Regions from separate parts of the Homo sapiens genome. Here regions 1 and 2 are each linked to region 3. The links are contacts of gene promoters, found by promoter capture Hi-C in blood cells and fetal thymus (Javierre and others, 2016). All regions are on one chromosome and are shown on one strand. Each heading gives the region's core, a stretch centred on a gene start or on the middle of the fragment in contact. The rest is flanking DNA. Distances are from core to core; before and after follow the strand shown.

The links. Contacts are between HindIII fragments. The CHiCAGO score rates a contact against its expected background, and 5 or more counts as called.
Region 1: a fragment that was not itself captured here is called in contact with the fragment with the promoter of CCDC174 in region 3 in 9 of 17 cell types (total CD4 T cells, non-activated CD4 T cells, naive CD4 T cells and 6 more); the score reaches 18.8 in total CD4 T cells.
Region 2: a contact is called between a fragment that was not itself captured here and the fragment with the promoter of CCDC174 in region 3, in 9 of 17 cell types (total B cells, total CD8 T cells, naive CD4 T cells and 6 more). The highest score is 14.7, in total B cells.

Annotation. Positions count from the first base shown.
Region 1 is chr3:12,487,279-12,491,003 of GRCh38, forward strand. It overlaps TSEN2 (tRNA splicing endonuclease subunit 2), which reads left to right. Exons shown (of 12, transcript NM_025265.4): 2 at 2,506-2,711. The coding sequence starts at 2,523. Among named protein-coding and RNA genes, the nearest start is that of TSEN2, 4.7 kb to the left of the region's middle. The HindIII fragment of the contact is 5,707 bases long and covers 1-3,725 here.
Region 2 is chr3:12,551,891-12,555,588 of GRCh38, forward strand. It overlaps a transcript of MKRN2OS not described here. Among named protein-coding and RNA genes, the nearest start is that of MKRN2, 3.3 kb to the right of the region's middle. The HindIII fragment of the contact is 1,633 bases long and covers 435-2,067 here.
Region 3 is chr3:14,649,813-14,653,345 of GRCh38, forward strand. CCDC174 (coiled-coil domain containing 174) reads left to right here and starts at 1,950. Exons shown (of 11, transcript NM_016474.5): 1 at 1,950-2,066. The coding sequence starts at 2,025. LOC124909347 (a long non-coding RNA gene) reads right to left here and starts at 2,309. Exons shown (of 2, transcript XR_007095826.1): 1 at 1,857-2,309; 2 at 1-1,414. RefSeq lists enhancers at 1,491-2,149, 1,653-2,052, 2,193-2,262. The HindIII fragment of the contact is 1,793 bases long and covers 1,722-3,514 here.

The DNA.
Region 1 (3,725 bases), core at 793-3,292, 2.2 Mb before region 3:
ATTATGAGGGGTGTTTTGTCGCAGGGACCCTTCCATCCCACACACCTGGGTTGGAGTACAGAGTTCTTTCGATCAAGTGTCACAGCTAAATCTTGCCTTTTTTAGATGTGACAGCAGTCTGAGAGGGAAAAACGCTGAACAAATGAGGCAGACTAAAATACAACTCTTATTTGTTGAGAGAATTTATTAGAACTTCTTGAAGGTGGCCATTAAATCTTTTTTCATTTTTTTAAAATTCCGAATGTAATGTATATAAGTCAGCTGCTGAGCAGAGGTTATAAAAGTGAAAAATCCCATAAAAGTCCAAACCATTCCTGGAAGTCTTTCAAAAAGTGCCTTACTAGAGACCAACATCCTGCCCCCAAAAAGCAGTGTTTATTTTCAGTTTTAGAATAAATTATTGTCTCTCCAATTGAGTACTAAATGTGATAATTTAGTACTTGGGCTGAGGGATAAGTCAGCAAGCAAGGTAAAGCCTAGTCTAAATATGCTCTTAAGAAAATCTCTTAGGTTTCCTGTGAGCATGCAGTAGACGTGGTTTTGTTATAAACACTATACAGCAAGATGCATGCATAAATATAAAATGTACAAAGTAATGCTCAGTATGTAATTCCTTCAAGGAACCTTATTTAGAAATTAATCTAGCATGTTGCTGCTTAGAACAATGGCAATTCTAGGAAGGTTCCAACTTCCCGATTCTTCTTTTTCATGGTTATCTTTGTAATTGATGTATCATTTCCTCTAACTCCTCTTTAGTCTGTGTTTTTCTGTGTCCTCATATAATTCCTCAGCTTCTTCCTTGAGAAGTTGGATACTGATATCATCACACGTTGGATAAGCCTTTTCTTAATGGTCATGACACTCTTAAAGCCACTCACCTTCCCCTCCCTCAGTTTTGGCCACCTTCTTGACTGTTTCAGGCTTGATGGCATCCCTTGCCAATGGGATGCAAGTACTGAGTGCAGGAGCCACCTAAGTAATTAGTCTTATTTTTTCCCTTGTGAGGATTCGGAGTCATGTAGGTTAAACGTGTGTATGATTTGGCCGCACTGTATCTTCAAGCACCAGGTAAGCTCTCAGTTGAAATCAAGTCTAGACCTAGTACTGGGGGAGCAGCAGATTCAAGTTTCCCATCTCATTCCAGGACAGCTGCTCCTCGAGTGGAATGTCTTGCACCATTTACATTGTTTTCCCATGTATATGGTTACGTTTTCCTAGGTTAAGTGCATCTACTGTATCTCTGTGTCTGCATCACACAATATGTTCACATTTACTTCCCTCCTTTAGACATTAGTGGATAACAGCCAGTTCCGTTAGCTCCAACCTGCTTTCTGTGCTTCCAGCTATGTTATATACTTGTTTTGTCTCCTTGGATCCAATGTATGGCCCCAGAGGGACACGTACTGGCTTTGGCTTTCTGTTCTCCCTCATGGTGCTGGGTGCACAGTGGGTAATTCCGTTACTGCTCAATAACCCTTCACCGTCTGATTTTGAGAAAGAGTCATCAGACAAAAGTAGATAGACCCTGCCTGTGCTTTCAGCAGAATCTAGAGAGAGGGCATGGGCTTGGGAGTTCAACAGACCTGGGTCACCCGATGCCACCACACTCGGGGTCGTCTACAAATCTCTCTAACCTGAATCTGTTTCCTATTTGTAAAATGGTGTTGCTACTGCTCACCCTGTAATACTAATTATAGCTGATACATGAATGGTACACGCTATGTGCCAGGTACTGTTCTAAGCACTTTATGGATCTTAACTGTAAGATAGAGTCGTTCTTATCTTGATTTTGCAGGTGAGGAAACTAAATCACAGAGAGAGTCAGTGACTTTTGCCCAAAATCACACTGCTAGGAAGTGGTAAAGTTGATTCTGATGCTGATAGTCTGGCTTTAGAGTCCCTGCTTGAAGCCAGTAGCATTTGGTAGTATATAATCGACCCTTAAATAACTGCTGCTGTCATTATTATTTATTAATGTACTTTAAAAATTGGGAGCTGATTGACCCAATGTTTAGTGTGTATTGTAAGATCCTCTTGGAAAATGAAGTGCCTGCAAGATTTAATTTGTTGAGGACAGGGTCTCAGTTTTGTCTTTGTCTCCCCAGCACCTATGATTATTAGGAATTCCTGGTAGTAAATGTCTGTTGGGTGAGTGAAATGGAAGCACTCCTGGTAGACAGAAATCCTGTTGTGCTTGCTCTCAGGAGACCTAACATTGCAGCTTTGGGCATGTCACTAGGTCTCAGCGTTGTCAGCTGGAGTAGAAAGATTACCACTCATTTCCTGGGGTTTATTGTGGGGATTAATTGCAGTATTCTAGGTCAATATGATTTACATTGCTCACACAAACTGTTCTTACTGCTTTTAGTTTATTGCTTTATAAATACTCTATTTCTTCCCACAGACCACTAAGTTTTCTGAGCCTAGGTACAGATGTACTCACATTTTGGATCAAGGTAGTTATTGATTGTCTGTTTCTTTCTGTTTGTTGTCTACTCTTTAAAGAATACCTCCTCTGAAAAATGGCAGAAGCAGTTTTCCATGCCCCAAAGAGGAAAAGAAGAGTGTATGAGACTTACGAGTCTCCATTGCCAATCCCTTTTGGTCAGGACCATGGTCCTCTGAAAGAATTCAAGATATTCCGTGCTGAAATGATTAACAACAATGTGATTGTGAGGAATGCGGAGGACATTGAGCAGCTCTATGGGAAAGTAAGTGCAGGCAGCCTTGGTAAGATTACTTTCAGACAACCCTGAGCAAGCAGTCCTTTCCTTCTCCCCATCCCAGCCATACCCCCACACCAACCATGAACAATGTGTATTCTTTCCTTGCGGTTTGGTCCAGTTGTAGGAAAAGTACAATTTGAATTAGTGCCCAAAAGCCATATGTTAGGGTAATAGAATGACAGATGGAGCACCCCTGCCCACAAACCTTTATTTCAGTGATGAAGTAGGTTCAATGGATTGACTATTTTTTTTGTCTTTAGTTGTAAAAGCAATGCATGTTTGTTAAAGGAACAAAAAAAGTAATTTACAGAAATGTAATGGGTAAAAAAGTGAAAATTCCCCACTCACTCCCATCCCGTTCCCAGAGGTAGCCACAGCGTGGCATAGTGTCCCTACTCAGGCACGGATCAGATGGGGCTTTGGCATGGAGCTCCTTATCTGCTGCCTCCTGGTTGGGGACCTCTTCTCAGATGAGGACAAGTTCTAGTTTTTACTGTTTTCCAGCATTGATCAAGTTGAATGAAGACTGGTAGTTCTTTAAAAAAAATTTTCCATAATCTGTTCATTGCTGTGGGCATTTTTAAAAAACAGCTTTATTGAGTTATAATTTACAACTATAAAGTCCTCCCATTGTAAGTATACAATTCAGTGATTGTCATAAATTTATAGAGTTGCACAACTCTCACCACAGTCCAGTTTTAGAACATTCCCATCACCACAGAGTTCCCTTGTGCCCATCACACTTAATCCCTGCTCCCACTCCCGGCCCAAGGCAGCCACGGAATGGCGTCTTGTCTCCATAAATGTGCCTTCTCTAGACACTTGATAGAAGAGTGGGTGGCACTGGCCATGGTGAGGCAGGAGTCTCAGTAGGCCAAGGGCAGCTCACCAGGGAGGCCTTCATTTACAGTATATAACATTAAGCAAGAGGCTTTATAAAGTGCTGTATGCATTATTTATTCTTGGTTTTTGTTGTTGCTGGGTGTTTTTTTTGTTTGT
Region 2 (3,698 bases), core at 1-2,500, 2.1 Mb before region 3:
GAGATCACACCATTGCACTCCAGCCTGGGAGACAGAGTGAGACTCTGTCTCAGAAAAAAGAAAAAAAAATCAAGATGATACATTTAAATCCAGCTATATTACATTTAGTGTAAATGGACTAAATGCTCCGATACAAAAAACAAAGAAGGCTGGGCACGGTGGCTCACGCCTGTAATCCCAGCACTTTGGGAGGCCGAGGCAGGTGAATCACCAAGTCAGGAGTTCAAGACCAGCCTGGCCAAGATAGTGAAACCCTGTCTCTACTAAAAATACAAAAAATTAGCTGGGCGGGGTGGTGGGCGCCTGTAATCCCAGCTACTTGGAAGGCTGAAGCAGAGAATTGCTTGAACCCTGGAGGCGGAGGTTGCAGTGAGCTGAGATCGTGCCGCTGCACTTCAGCCTGAACAACAGAACAAGACCATCTCAAAAAAAAAAGCTTTCCAAAACTCCCATAAAACAATGAAATCTGAATAGCTTTATATATAAGAAAGCAATTAGATATTTTAATTTTTTTTAATTTTTAATTTTTTTTTTTTTTTAAGACGGAGTCTCACTCTGTCGTCCAGGCTGGAGTGCAATGGCGCCATCTCAGCTCACCAAAACCTCTGCCTCCCGGGTTCAAGCGATTCTCCTGCCTCAGCCTCCCGAGTAGCTGGGATTACAGGCATGCACCACCACACCTGAATAATTTTGTATCTTTAGTAGGGTCGGGGTTTCTCCATGTTGGCCAGGTTGGTCTTGAACTCCTGACCTCAGGTGATTTGCTCACCTGGGCCTCCCAAAGTGCTAGGATTACAGGTGTGAGCCACCATGCCCCACATTTAAATCTTTAATTAAAAATCATCCTGCAGGCTGGGCATGGTGGCTCATGCCTGTAATCCTAGCACTTTGGGAGGCCAAGGTGAGCAAATTTCTTGAGCTCAGGAGTTTGAAACCAGCCTGGGCAACATAGTGAGATCTCCTGTCTACAAAAAATACAAAAATTGGCCAGGAGTGGTGGAGCATGCCTGGCGCACACCTGTAGCCCCAGCTACTTGAGGGGCTGAAACCAGGAGGTGGAGGTTGCAGTGAGCCAAGATCACACCACGGCACTCCAGCCTGGGTGACAAAGTGAGACCCGGTCTCCAAAAAAAAAAAAAAAAAAAAAATCTTCCTGCACAGTAAACTGCAGGCTGAGATGGCTTCCATGGTAAATTCTTCCAGATGTTTAAGGGAAAAATTAATACCCATATTACACAGACTTTTCCAGAGGATAGAAAAGAAAGACTTCCAAACTCATTTTATGAGACCAGCATATCCCAGATACCAGCACCTGGCATGGACATTATAAGAAAGGAACACTACAGACTAATATCTCTCATACACAAGGATGCAAAAATTCTAAACACAATTTTAACAAATAGATGATTTATAGAAAATATATCATGGCCATGTGGGGTTTATCCTGAGCAATTGGGTAGGGTTAACATTAAAAATCAATCAGTATAATTCAATACATTACCAGTATAAAAGGGAAAAACAATATAGGTTTCTCAATACATGCAAAAAAAAAAGTGATAAAAGTCAAGATGTGTTCATGGTAAAAATGCTAATAAAACTAGAAAGAAACTTTCTTAATTTGGCAATGGATAGCCTAAAAAAATCTAGGGCTAACATTTTAATTAAAATATTAAATAATTTTAAAGTAAAATATTAAATATTTTTATTGAATCCAGGAACAAAATAAGATGTACACTATTACTACTTCTCTTTAACATTGTTCTGAAGGCTGTAGACAGTGCATGCAATAAGGCAAGGAAAAGAAATAAAAGATACAAAGATGAAAAGGAAGCAAAACTGTCATTATTTGCTGATGGCGTGATTGTGTATAGAAAATCGATAACTAACTACAAATAAACCATTAGAATTAATTCAAAATTTAGCATGGAGCTGAATCCCAAGTCAGTATACAAAGATCCAGTGTATTTCTATATATAAGCAACAAGCAATTCGGAAATTTTAGGAATATCATTTAAAATAGCATCGAAAACCGCTTCTAGGGGCAGGTCGGCACACAAAGAAAACGAAAGCTTTGCAAGACCCTCGGCGCACGTCTGCGCAAAGGGTCTCTGTGTCTCTACGCCCAGATGGCCATTTTGAGTCCCGAGCTGGCAGCCACCCTTCTCTTCTGTTTTCTCAGCTTCTTCACCCGCTTCTATCTGATAGCCTTTTTCTCCCGAGTGTTTGGTAGCAAAGTTGCTTTTCCTAAGGGGCGAGAACGGGAGCTGGTGGTTAGCAAGCAGACGCAGTTTTACGCGCCCCTGCTACGGGCAGGAGCGAGTGGCCCTGCCTTCTCTGCCAGCGCGGGTTCCCTGGGGGTGAGGAAAGTGAGTTCCACGTCCCGGGTGGGGCAGGACTTGGTGTTTAGTGCCCAGCGCCAGATAACGCCGGAAGAACCCCAAGTGGAGACTGCTTGCATCCTTCGGGAAAAGTCTAAGTGCTAAGTACCATGACAGTGGCAGGAACCAAGCTGTTGGGTACAGCTTGTGGAAGTGCACACTGGCTGTCGTTGATCCAGTGTTGTATTATTTTTTCATAAATATATATGAAATATATGAAATATATATGAAATATAAAAATATATATATATATTGCCCATGACACAGACCTCAGGAGATCCTGAGAACATGTGCCCGATCCAGTGTTTTATTTGCACAGACACCCTAAAGGGCACCAGCAGTACAAGGCTGATGAAATAACTTATGGCATAGTCGTACAACGGAATACTATACAGTTCTACGAAAGGAGGAAGAGGCTCTATGTACTGATATGGAAAAATCTCCACTGATTATGTACGCTGTGCAGAACAGTACGTTATGTTATCTTTTCTACAAAAAGGAGAAAATAATATATATGTATTTACTTGTGTATATTTAAAGAAATTCTGGAAAGATGTATACAAATTTGATAACAGTGGCCAGGTTTTGAGGTTTTAAAAAATGTTTCTGCTTTTTGTTTTGAAGAGGCGGGAACTAAATTGACAGGAGACTGAGACTTTTCACTTTACGCTTTTAAAATATTTGAACATAATAACGTTCAGATCGTGAATGTATTCCATAAAGAATGAGATAAGCTGAATTTTAAAAATAAGTGGCATGGGCTGGGCGCGGTGGCTCTCGCCCGTAATCCCAGCACTTTGGGAGGCCGAGGCGGGTGGATTGCCTGAGCTCAGAAGTTCGAGACCAGCCTGGGCAACAGGGTGAAACCCCGTCGCTACTAAAACACAAAAAATCAGCTGGGCGTGGCAGCGTGCGCCTGTATAATCCCAGCTACTCCGGAGGCTGAGACAGGAGAATCGCTTGAACACGGGAGGTGGAGGTTGCAGTGAGCCAAGAGCATGCCACTGCACTCCAGCCTGGGTGACAGAGCAAGACTCCGTCTCAAAAAAAAAAAAAAAAAAGACGTGTAATTTTTATGAGCATGAATTGCATGGATCAAATGTGTTATGAGTTAAAATGCAATATTCAAGACACTGAAAACAAAATTTCCAGTATACTTCCAAATTCCTGAGAAAAATTTCAAAAGTTCTAAATAATTGGAAGTATATACCATGCTCATTCATTGGAAGACTCAATATTTTTATAGCAAAGTAAAAAAAGAACATACAGCTATACATACATAACATGGAAAGATCTCACAGATAAAATGTTGGTCAAAAG
Region 3 (3,533 bases), core at 700-3,199:
AGATTTGTAACAAAAACACATGGAATTTAGTATGTGTTTCAGTAAAATGGGTAAATACAGAATCTGAACAAGACAAGTCTATAAGGTATAATCCTTCTTGTGGGGACAGAACATTCCACTCCATTAAGAAAAGAGAATCACAACATTATTAGGCCCGATTATCTCATATTGCTTACTGTTCTAATTTCAGAGACTGGCGGACTTGGAGAAATAAACAAATGAAAATAAATAAATAAGACTGAACACAGTCAACTGCCTCAATTCCCCTCTCCTTTTCCCTTTTCCCATTTTCTCCATAAAGACAGATGAGATGAGGATGTGATGAGTCTCATTTTTCTTCTCTCTAATATGGTGGATAATAGGTCCGCTTCTAGGATTCTTGCAAGGATTATATAATATAATCTATGCAAAGAGTCATACACATGCCCCACATATACTAAATGCCACTGTTACAATCATTATGATCACTTTCGTCTTGCTGCTGTAACAAATTGCCACAAGTTTGGTGGCTTAAAACAACACAAACGTATTCTGGTAGAGTTCTGGAAGTCAGAAGTTTGAGATGAGTGTTACAAGACTAAAATCACCGTGTCAGCAATGCTGCATTCCTTCTGGAGACTCTGGAGGAGGGCTCATTTCTTTGCTTTTTCTAGCGGCCTCCTGCATACCTAGGCATGTGGTCCCACTCTCCCTCTTCAAAGCATCTCTGATCTCTGTCTGACTCTGGCCATCCTGTCTACCCCTTATAAGGATGGTTTTGATGATAGGGGACCCACCTGCACAATCCAGGCTAGCTCCCCATCTCAATCGCTTTAATTTCATCATCTCTGCCAATTCTCTTTTGCTATATAAAGGTCACCATATACCCAGATTCTGGGGATTAGAAGGTAGACATCTGGGAGTCGGGGTGAGGGTGATTGGTCTGTCTACCATAATCATTAACATTTTTATCAAGACTAGCTCATTTAACTCATCTAATCCTCACTAAGACCCATTAGGTAAATAAAATTATATCCCCCTTTGGAAACTGAGGCACACGGAAGTTAAGTAACTTGCCCAAGGTCACACAAGCAGTAAGCCGTGAAGAGCGATTCCAACCCAGAAAGTCAGCTTTCGAGTTCACGTGTTCTTTGTTTTTTTTTTTTTTGATCTCGACTCACTGCAACCTCCACCTCCCAGGTTCAAGCGATTCTTCTGCCTCAGCCTCCTGAGTAGCTGGGAATACAGGCGCGCACCACCACGCTCGGCTAATTTTTTTTTTTTCTTGTATTTTCAGCAGAGACGGGGTTTCACCATGTTGGTCAGGCTGGTCTCAAACTCCTGACCTCCTGATCCACCCGCCTCAGCCTCCCAAAGTGCTGGGATTACAGGCGTGAGCCACCGCGCCCGGCCCAGGAGTTCACGTTCTTAAGAGCTGAAATATGTAAAGTGGCCCATAATAAGCACTACATTAATGTTAGCTATTATTCTTGTTATTTCTACTAAGATTAATATAATAATCCTTATCTCGTACGCTCTTTTAAGAACCAACTATTTAACGTGTGAAAAGTGCCAGGCAGCAGGTCCTGGAATTGCAGTTAAGATTCTTCCGGTCCTCCCAATCCACCTTTCCCGAGACGCTCGAGTTCACTTACTTAAGCGTCAGCCTTCCCCAAGATGGCGTTATCTTTGTCGCCAACCCCACATCCGCCCCACCCAATATGGCGTCCATCGCAATCAAAAGCTTTATTCCGCCCTTCTCAAGATGGCGCCCACACCAATCCTTGTTACCTTCCGCCCTCAAGATGACCTTAGCAGTTAGCGTCAACCTCCGCACTCTATGACCTTTCCAAAATGATGGTGAACGTAATACGCACCACACTCTGACCTTCTCAAGATGGCGCTGAGCTGACAAACTCGCGTCGCAAACTCACGCAAACTCAGTGTCGCTGTCGAAGACACTTCCGGTTGCGACGGAGGTAGGCTTACGAGGCCTGTGTCGGGTAGAAAGGGTCCTTCCTGGACCGGGACCCTCTGCCACGACCATGGACCGTAGGAAAAAGCCTTTGGACGTCACGGCCTCCTCGGTGAGTGAGGGTATGAGGTAACTCCACGGGCTCCGGGTTCACCGTGTCTCCATCAGACAAGAATGTCGACCTAGCTTGTTTCTTCACTCGGGGACCCAGAGACCTGACCTCTCCCCTCAAACAGGAACCCCCGAACTGGATTTTCTTCTCCGGCGGGGATCCGGTTCAGTTTTCTTACAGGACCCTGAATTGGGCTACTCTCCTCTGACATGCGCCCGGGCCAGAACCCTCGGACACGGATCTGAACCTGGTGTCCCGTGGGTTAGGAAACTCCGTGCCTCACCTCTGCCCTGCCCACAAGGACCTGCACCTCGTCAGCCTTCTCCCTTACAGTCAGGAGGAACCCTAGCTTCTTTTTGCTATGCAGACATATCCTCTTCCTGGTTTCTCCTCCATCCAGGGACCCACAAAGTCCTCCCAGAACTTTAGAGTGTGACATATTTCGCAGGACCCGAAAGTGTCCAGCGTGCCCTCCCTGGAACTAAACAGTTGTTAATGCAGGCATAGGGAGTTGTGAGGTCTGAAAGGATGTAAGCAGATTTATTACATCAGCTACTCTAGAAAGAAAACTTGTTCTAAGTACACATTTTGTGCCAGCACTTTATATGCACTATCTCATTGAATCCTCCCAATGGCTTTAGGAGGTAGGTGCTATTAATATCTCCGTTTTATGGATGATGAAATTGAGGCCTGGAAAGATGAAGTAGCTTTCCCCAGCTTACAGACAGAAATCTTAGTGATAGCCGGGCGCGGTGACTCACGCCTGTAATCCCAACACTTTGGGAGGCTGAGGCGGGCAGATCACCTGAGGTCGGGAGTTTGAGACCAGTCTGACCAACATGGAGAAACCCCGTCTCTACTAAAAATAAAAAAATTAGCCGGGCGTGGTGGTGCACGCCTGTAATCCCAGCTACTCGGGAAGCTGAGGCAGGAGAATCGCTTGAACCGGGGAGGCGGAGGTTGCGGTGAGCCGAGATCGCGCAATTGCACTCCAACCTGGGCAACAAGAGCGAAACTCCGTCTAAGGGGCGGGGGGCGGGGGGAAGAAATCTTAGTGATAGACCCTTTCTCACTCACTCTACTTGACTCCAAAGCTGCTGCCTTTTCATCATCAGAGCAAATTGCCCAACCTTTGATTTAATCTTGAATTTACTTCAGAGTATTAGGACACAAAGTGAGTAGGAAGGAAAACATATAGGTGTCCCAATATTTGAGTACTAGTTATTATTGGTAACTATTATTGGTTAAAATTGGTACCAGTTATTATTTTGTTTGAAGATCAGGAACCAGAAAGCTATAAATATTAAAGCCAACCTATACTGACAGGTTAGCAGTAATTGTAATAAGAATGCTATTTGAGAATTTACATTTTTTTGAGCATCTCTTAAAGTTAAAGGCAGTTGTAGACTAGGAAGATATGTGGCTGGAAAATTTGGTGTGGTTAAGTAAGCTTAGAAGAAAAAGTAG